2 separate regions of the Homo sapiens genome follow, and region 1 is linked to region 2. The links are contacts of gene promoters, found by promoter capture Hi-C in human tissues and cell types (Jung and others, 2019). All regions are on one chromosome and are shown on one strand. Each heading gives the region's core, a stretch centred on a gene start or on the middle of the fragment in contact. The rest is flanking DNA. Distances are from core to core; before and after follow the strand shown.

Evidence for each region. Contacts are between HindIII fragments. The study calls those that stand out against the background at their distance.
Region 1: a contact is called between a fragment that was not itself captured here and the fragment with the promoter of AHDC1 in region 2, in 4 of the 25 tissues and cell types used here (dorsolateral prefrontal cortex, mesendoderm cells, spleen and 1 more).

The regions. Positions count from the first base shown.
Region 1 is chr1:27,497,645-27,502,045 of GRCh38, reverse strand. No RefSeq gene overlaps it. Among named protein-coding and RNA genes, the nearest start is that of WASF2, 9.7 kb to the right of the region's middle. The HindIII fragment of the contact is 9,908 bases long and covers 1-4,401 here.
Region 2 is chr1:27,602,787-27,607,007 of GRCh38, reverse strand. It overlaps AHDC1 (AT-hook DNA binding motif containing 1), which reads left to right and starts at 2,864. Exons shown (of 9, transcript NM_001371928.1): 1 at 2,864-2,902; 2 at 3,145-3,280; 3 at 3,514-3,611. RefSeq lists enhancers at 1-404, 296-590, 4,173-4,221 and silencers at 2,520-3,059, 3,610-3,689. The HindIII fragment of the contact is 10,400 bases long and covers 1-4,221 here.

The DNA of each region.
Region 1 (4,401 bases), core at 1,179-3,678, 100 kb after region 2:
TTTTTTTTTTTTTTTTTGAGGTGGAGTTTGCTCTTGTTGCCCAGGCTAGAGTGCGATGGCGTGATCTCGGCTCACCACAACCTCTGCCACGTGGGTTCAAGCGATTCTCCTGCCTCAGCCTCCCGACTAGCTGGGATTACAGACATGTGCCACCATGCCCGGCTAATTTTGTACTTTTAGTAGAGAACGGGGTTTCTCCATGTTTGTCAGGCTGGTCTTGAACTCCTGACCTCAGGTGATCCACCCGCCTCGGCCTCCCAAAGTGCTCGGATTACAGGCTTAAGCCACCGCGCCCAGCCATATTTTTCTACTTCTATACCTGCAGTGCCTAGTATGGAACCTAACATAAAACTGACCCAAGACATGTTACTCTCCAGTCGTTTCTTTTTTTTTTTTATTTCTTCTAAAAAAAATGGGATACATGTGCAGAACGTGCAGGTTTGTTACATAGGCATTCGTGTGCCACGGTGGTTTGCTGCACCTACTGATCCATCCTCTAAGTTCCCTCCCCTCACCCTCCAAACCTCAAACAGGCCCTGGTGTGTGCTATTCCCCTCTCTGTGTCCATGTGTTCTCAATGTTCAACTCCCACTTATGAGTGAGAACATGCGGTGTTTGGTTTTCTGTTCTTGTGTTAATTTGCTGAGGATGATGGCTTCCAGCTTCATCCATGTCCCTGCAAAGGACATGATCTCATTCCTTTTTATGGCTGCATAGTATTCCATGGTGTATATGTACCACATTTTCTTTATCCAGTCTATCATTGATGGGCATTTGAGTTGGTTCCATGTCTTTGCTATTGTAAATAGTGCTGCAATAAACATACATGTGCATGTGTCTTTATAGTAGGATGATTTATTTTATTTTATTTTATTTTTTGAGACGGAGTCTTGCTCTGTCACCCAGGCTGAAGTGTAGTGGCACGATCTCGGCTCACTGCAAGCTCCACCTCCTGGGTTCACGCCATTCTCCTGCCTCAGCCTCCGGAATAGCTGGGACTACAGGCGCCCGCTACCATGCCCAGCCAATTTTTTGTATTTTTAGTAGAGACAGGGTTTCACTGCGTTAGCCAGGATGGTCTCGATCTCCTGACCTCGTGATCCGCCTACCTCGGCCTGCCACAGTGCTGGGATTACAGGCGTGAGCCACCGCGCCCGGCCAGTAGAATGATTTATATTCCTTTGGGTATATACCCAGTAATGGGATTGCTGGGTCAAATGGTATTGCTGGTTCTAGACCCTTGAGGAATTGCCACAATATCTTCCACAATGGTTGAACTAATTAACATTCTCACCAACAATGTAAAAGCGTTCCTATTTCACCACAGCCTCACCAGCATCTATTGTTTCCTGACTTTTTAATAACTGCCATTCTGGCCAGGCGCAGTGGCTCATGCTTGTAATCCCAACACTGTGGGAGGCCAAGATGGGTGGATCATGAGGTCAGGAGATCGAGACCATCCTGGCTAACACAGTGAAACCCAGTCTCTACTAAAAATACAAAAAAAAAAAAAAAAATTAGCCAGGTGTGGTGGCAGGCGCTTGTAGTCCCAGCTACTCGGGAGGCTGAGGCAGAAGAATGGCGTGAACCTGGGAGGCGGAGCTTGCAATGAGCCGAGATCGCACCACTGCACTCCAGCCTGAGTGACAGAGCGAGACTCTGTCAAAAAAAAAAAAAAAAAAAGTTAGCTGGGTGTGGTGGCACCCGCCTGTAGTCCCAGTTACTGGGGAGCCTGAGGCAGAAGAATCTCTTGAACCTGGGAGACGGAGGTTGCAGTGAGCTGAGATCACGCCACTGCACTCCAACCTGGTGACACAGCAAGACTCCGTCTCAAAAATAAATAAATAAATAAAAATAACTGCCATTCTGACTGGCGTGAGATGGTATCTCTTTGTGGTTTTGATTTGCATTTCTCTGATGGCCAGTGATGTTGAGCTTTTTTTCCTGCGTTTGTTGGCCATGTAAATATCTTCTTTTGAGAAGTGTTCATATCCTTAACTCACTTTTTGATGGGGTTGTTTTTTTCTTATAAATATGTTTAAGTTCCTTGTAGATTCCGGATATTAGACCTTTGTCAGATCAGTAGACTGAAAAAATTTTCTCCCATTCTGTAGGTTGCCTGTTCATTCTGATGATAGTTTCTTTTTTCTCTCTCTCTTTTTTTTTTTTTTTTTTTTTTTTTTAAGACGGAGTCTCCCTCTGTCTCCCAGCCTGGTGTGTGCAGTGGTGTGATCTCGGCTCACTGCAAGCTCCGCCTCCCGGGTTCACGCCATTCTCCTGCCTCAGCCTCCCGAGTAGTTGGGACTACAGGCACCCGCCACCACGCCCAGCTAATTTTTTTGTATTTTTAGTAGAGATGGGGTTTCACTGTGTTAGCCAGGATGGTCTCAATCTCCTGACCTCGTGATCTGCCCGTCTCAGCCTCCCAAAGTGCTGAGATTACAGGCGTGAGCCGCTGTGCCCGGCCGATAATAGTTTCTTCTGCTGTGCAGAAGCTCTTTAGTTTAATTAGATCCCACTTGTCAATTTTGGCTTTTGTTGCAATTGCTTTTGGTGTTTTTGCCCATGCCTATGTCCTGAATGGTGTTGCCTAGGTTTTCTTCTAGGGTTTTTATTCCTCAGGCTTTTTTTATTCAGTCCACTTTGCAGGGTAGATCATATTCTGTTCCTACTTCCTAATTCTGCCTGAGGAACTCCTACTCACCCTTCAAAACCCCTTCCAAATGGCCCTTCCTCTGTAAGCCTGTCCCAATCTCCCAGTTAAGTTCTCTACTTCTATAAGCTCATAGCTCCTACTGCAATCAGTGTCTTCCGCTTTTATTGTAATTTTTATGTATATCTTCTCCCTCATCAGATTGGGAGCCACTCAAGGGCAGAGTCTGAGTGGACTGATCCCTCCGTCCCCAGTGCCCTGCACAAGCCTGGCCAGGGCAGGCAGCAATGTATCCTTATTAAATGAATAGACTGGAAGATGTCATGAAGGGGGTAAAACTGAGGCAGGATTTTGGGCTGGGTGCCGTGGCTCATACCTGTAATCCCAGCACTTTGGGAGGCCAAGGTGGGCAGATTGCTTGTGCTCAGGAGTTCAATACAAGCCTGGGAGGCTGGGCCGGGTGGCTCATGCTTGTAATCCTAGCACTTTGGGAGGCCAAGGCAGGAGGATTGCTTGAGGCCAAAAGTTAAAGACCAACCTGGCCAACATAGCAAGACCCCCAGCCCCACCCCCATCTCTATTTAAAAAAAGAAGAAGAAGAAGACCAGCCTGGGCAACATGGCAAAACCCCGTCTCTACAAAAAATAAATAAATAAATAAAAATTTGCCGAGCATGGTGGCACGCACCTGTAGTCCCAGCTACTTGGAGGCTGAGGTGGGAAAATCACTTGAGTCCAGGAGGTAGAGGCTGCAGTGAGCTGAGATAGCACCACTGCACTCCAGTCTGGCGACAGAGTGAGACCTTGTCTCAAAAAAATAAAAAACAAAAATAAATAAATAATTCAGGCCGGGTGCGGTGGCTCACACCTGTAATCCCAGCACTTTGGGAGGCTGAGGTGGGAGGATCACCTGAGGTCGGGAGTTTAAGACCAGCCTGACCAACATGGAGAAACACTGTCTCTACTAAAAATTTAAAATTAGCCAGGCGTGGTGGCACATGCCTGTAATCCCAGCTACTCGGGAGCCTGAGGCAGGAGAATTGCTTGAACCCTGGAGGCGGAGGTTGTGGTGAGCTGAGATGGCGCCATTGCACTCCAGCCTGGGCAACAAGAGTGAAACTCTGTCTCAAAAAAAAAAAAAAAAAAAAAAAAATTCAAGCAGGATTTTGAAGGTAGGAGGAAAGAGAATAACAGGTACTTACTGAGGGCATAGTACCAATAAAAACAGGCTGGGCACGGTGGCTCACGCCTGTAATCCCAGCACTTTGGGAGGCCGAGGTGGGCAGATCACGAGGTCGGGAGTTCGAGACGAGCTTGGCCAACATGGTGAAACCCCATCTTCAAAAAATACAAAAATTAGCTGGGCATGGTGGTGGGTGTCTGCAATCTTAGCTACTCAGGAGGCTGAGACGTGAGAATCACTTAAACCCAGGAGGCGGAGATTGCAGTGAGCTGAGATCATGCCACTGCACTCCAGCCTGGGTGACAGAGCGAGACTCCATCTCAAAAAAAAAAAAAAAGAAAAATCATAATCATCAGCAGCAGCATCATCATCATGGGAACTATCACTAAATGTGCCATAGTGTGATGAGTAAGAGCACAGATTAAGCTCTACCCCTTACTGGCTGTGTGAGCATGTGCAAGTTATAGAAATCTCCTTGTGCCTCAGTTTCCTCATCTGCAAACTGGGGTTAGTAATAATATCTACCGTATCAGGAGTTAAATAGGTAAATATATGCAAGGTGCTGA
Region 2 (4,221 bases), core at 1,615-4,114:
CATGAGGTCTGGGGGCCTGGCTCCAGGCTGCTGGGACCTGTCAGTTATTGTCATTATTAGTGTGACTCATCATCTCTCTCACCATGCCCTTGCCAGTTTTCACAGTGCTTTTACATCTATATGCTCAGTTAATCTTCTCAACAGCTCTGCTTCTATTTTACACATGGGAAAACTGAGACTCACACAGATTGAGGACACACAAGTAAAATCAAGATCAGGACCAGGCCTGTCTAGCTCCTGCTCCACATGGCCTCTCAAACCCAAGGCCCCATTCCAGACTCTCATCTTTATTTTCCAGGGTCTAGCTACACCACCTTCTGCTTACACCGAAACAAAAGCGGCTGGAGGGAGCTGAGCCCAGAGAGGGATGATGCAGGCTCTTCCAGAACCTGTGTCCTCTGCCTCAAGCCTTCTTTCCCTCCTGCTCGCTGACAACTGCTGAAGCAGAAACGAAGATTAGACACTAGGTGGCAGCAGCAGCCCACGGGAAGACAACTTGAGTTTGGGGAGACCACCCCCCGCCAAACTCAACACAATTTGGAGAGGCTCCACGAAAAAGACCAGCCCCCAAATAACAGGGAGACTCTGCAATGCTTGGTTTCCAGTGATGATCAACACTTTAAGGGCCAATGGAATTCACCCTCACAGGGGAAGGGGACCGCTGAAGTAGCCTGGGGTGGGAGGGGCATGCTCGAGAAACCCTACCTAACTTCTATTTCCCTCTAACTCATAGAGCCATGGGCCCTACTAATCTTGCCCTCTGCATCTCATTACTTAACCTCCCCCTCCCATGCTTTTCCCAAACTCCCCTTCATCTCAACCTACTGGGGCTCTCCACACCCCAGAAACCATCCTATATTATCCCACCCAACTCCCTCCTAAAACTTGATTCAAACTGAGTAGAGTCTTCATGACTACAGGCAGAATCTAATGGGTAATGGGGGAAGGGAGAGAAAGGAGGAGGAACCTGGGTCTCTTTCACCCTCCCCAACGCCGAAGTCTGTCTGTCCTATAGGGGGCCAGCTAGGGCAAGGTGCCAAAGCCTCATCTATTTGGGATCACTTCAGGCCCAGGCTTTGGAGCTGCAGAATCTCTAATGACTTTAGCCACTACTTTTATGAGCATCTGACCTTATATTTCCCATTCAATGAATAAATCTTTGAACCCAAGTCCTAACTTGTCTGCAAGGAGAAGCTGCTCCAAGATGAGGGCCTCTCCAGTCGGTCATGGCAGCCCCATGATGCCAAATCAATAGTGTCCCGTTTAGAGCCCTAGACCTCTCCTATTACTGCTGCACACACCCTCTGCCAAGGGCCAATAGAGAGTGTTCCCCAGATCCCCTCTCTTGTCCTCTGGGGGTACTGGACTGCCATAGAGAAGGAGCTTGGAAGGAGTGAAGGTGTGGGGAAGATAGTGACCAGGGAGTTGCGGTTGGCAAAATGTCACCAGCTGCCTTTGTCACACACTGGCCAACACCCTGCAAGGCCAAAGGAAGAGTCAGAAACAGGTAGGCCAGAGACAAAGGCACTGCTCTAGGAACTTCAGACCTGGAGCAAGATAGACAAGGCCAGCAGACACAGGGTGTGGAACATCAGACACACAGATGAGGTGGTCCAGTGAGGTGGGACCGCCGCAGGGCCAGTCAGGGCCGGCGTTGGTAGACACCTAGGACACAGGACACGACAGCCACTATGCATTATTCATCTCCGTGTCCCTTGCAAGCCCTGCATACCTCAGTTAACATTTGTTGAAGTGCCAAGAAAGGACACACAGACACAGGGAGAGAAGGTCAGTTACAGAAATGGAGGGAGTCACAACTCCTTGTCATAGCCCAGGGGTTAAGCTTGTGGGGTTTGGAGTTAGTCAGACCCTGGTTCAAATCCAGCTGGGTTCAGCCACTTGCTAACTGGAGAACCTGGACCTCAGTGCCCCCATCTCTAAAATGGAAATAACAGCACTATTTTACCGCAGCAGTTCAGCCATCTCCGGGGGCGGTAACAAGGCCCCCAAGCAGCGCACATTCCCATCTGTGGGATAGGCTAGGCAGGGGCTGGAGAACACATGTGACCTGAAGAGGAGGTAGGTGAAAGTGCTGAGCCCAGCCCCCGGCCGCGGCAGGAGGTCAGCACCGTTCAATCTGAATCCTGCTTCCTGACACAACGCAAATGCTCAGCAGAATTCGGAAAAGGGTGTGTGTGTTCTATCTGCGGATTATCCAGGACTTTTGAGCCCTCGCCGCCCTTGGACATATAGGAAAGCTGGGAGTTGCAAGGGCGAAACCGAGGTCGGAGTTTGAGAGGAGGGGTCACTGAGTGAGGAAGCAGCGCTGGCTGGGTCTCCCCCGCTCCCCCGCCCCAGCAGCCCTCCCGCCATATATACTTGAGCTTTACTCAATAAGAAACCTTTTCAGAAAAGGATAACGTCCCCAGATTGAGAGAGCCGGTCCTCTCCTCTGCCCTCTCCCCCTCCCATTTAATTGGGACGCCCCAGAAAGTCGCAGCCCCTTTGGCTAATCCCCTGGTTCCCTATTCCACTCCCATTCCACTCTCAGACCCCGCCCCTTCACTCCCACCCGCAACCTCCGCTCGATCCAGAGCCCCCCGGTGGAGACAAGGAACACAGGGACCATTCTTAACCCTTGGGGAGGATCTTCGCCCGTTGGTAAACGAGGACGCGCTCCAGCCAGACGAGCCCCAGGCGCGGGGTCCCCGGGGCTCCTGGCCGCGCCGTCGGAGCAGCCGGCGCGGCCCCGCCCTCCCCGCGCGCGGAGCGGCCGGGGCGGGGACTACAAGTCCCGGCGTGCCGCGCGCGCGCTCCCCCCTGGGGTTCCGGATGGTGAGCGGCGAAGGTAAGGCGAGCTCGCAGAGGCAGCGGCGGCGGCGGCGGAGACGGAGAGAGGCAGGCAGGCAGGGCGAGGGCGAGAGACGGAGGGAGGGAGCGAGCGAGGCGGACCAGACAGACAGACAGGCGGGCGGGCGGGCAGAGCGAGCCACCCGCCAGGCTGCGCTCAGCCCCGCTCGCAGCGGAGAGAGCAGAAGGCAGGAGGAGGGAGGGGAGGAGGGGGAGGGAGGGAGAGAGGGAATCCAGCTACCACCACCCAAAGCCAGCGTCTGCTTTCTGTCCTCATTTCCTTTTCCCACCCAGCTTGGAGAGCAGAGAAAGGCAGAGAGAGCGAGAAATAGAGACAGTCTGAGAGACAGACAGACAGCCAGAGAGAGCGGGAGGGAGGAGGGCGGAGGAGGAGGAGCAGGAGGACTACGCGGGGCGCGTTCCCTCCCAGGTTTGCTATTGGGGGGGGTGGGGGCGGGGGTGTCCAGGGCTGGGAGAGTGTGTGCGCGGCGGGAGGGCGAGGGGGGCGCAGAGAGAGCGAAGGAGTGATCGAGGTGGGGGGGCGCCGCGGGAGCGGGGGGCCGTGTCCAGCGGAGTTAGCGGCGGAGAATGTGAGCCGAGGCGCGAGCCATGCTGTCAGCGACGGCGGGCGGCTCAGGGCTCCTCCACGACTCCTCTCCTCAGCAGCCGGGCGCCCGCGTCGCTGCCACCGCCGGAAGACAGACGTCCCCCAAAACCCCTCGCCTGGCTCGGACCCACGGAGCCGGCAGCCCAGCACTCCGGTGAGTGGCGCCTCCTCCCCAGCCCCAGACCCCCGCTGGGGACCGGCCGGCCAGGCTCTTTTGTGCAGCGCACGGGGGGGGCCTGCGTCCCCCGGTCCGGTCCGCTGGACCCGGTGGCTGCGGTGCCCGCGGTGCGATCGGTCTTTGTTTCCACCGGGGCCCGCGGCTCGGCTGGGCTCGGCTCGAAGCCTGGCAGGCAGCGCCGGGAAGGGGGAGGGGGAGGTGGACGGGGAGGGGGGGCGGGGAGGGGGGGTTCTCGGGTTTCCTGGCCGCCCCGCGGCTCCCCCGGCTCGGGGGCGAGGTGCGCGCCCAGCGCTGCCGCGCGCCCCCTCCTCCTTCCCCCTCCCTCCGCCTTTGGATTTAAAACTGCAATTTGCTCTCCAGCTTGCTGAGAATGTGGGGGGGGGGGGAATGAAGGGGGGACCGTGGGAGCGGAGAACAAGGCTGGATTTTAGGATCGGCGCTGGGAAAAGGGGAGACTGCGGAGGGAGGAGCCCCTCCCCTCCAACCCCCAAATCCCTAGGATCCACTGGCTCTCGGGGAGTTGAGGGGCGGGGACCTAATGACCCGGAGGGGGTGTGGGGCGGAGGAGGGATTTGGGGGCGGCTAG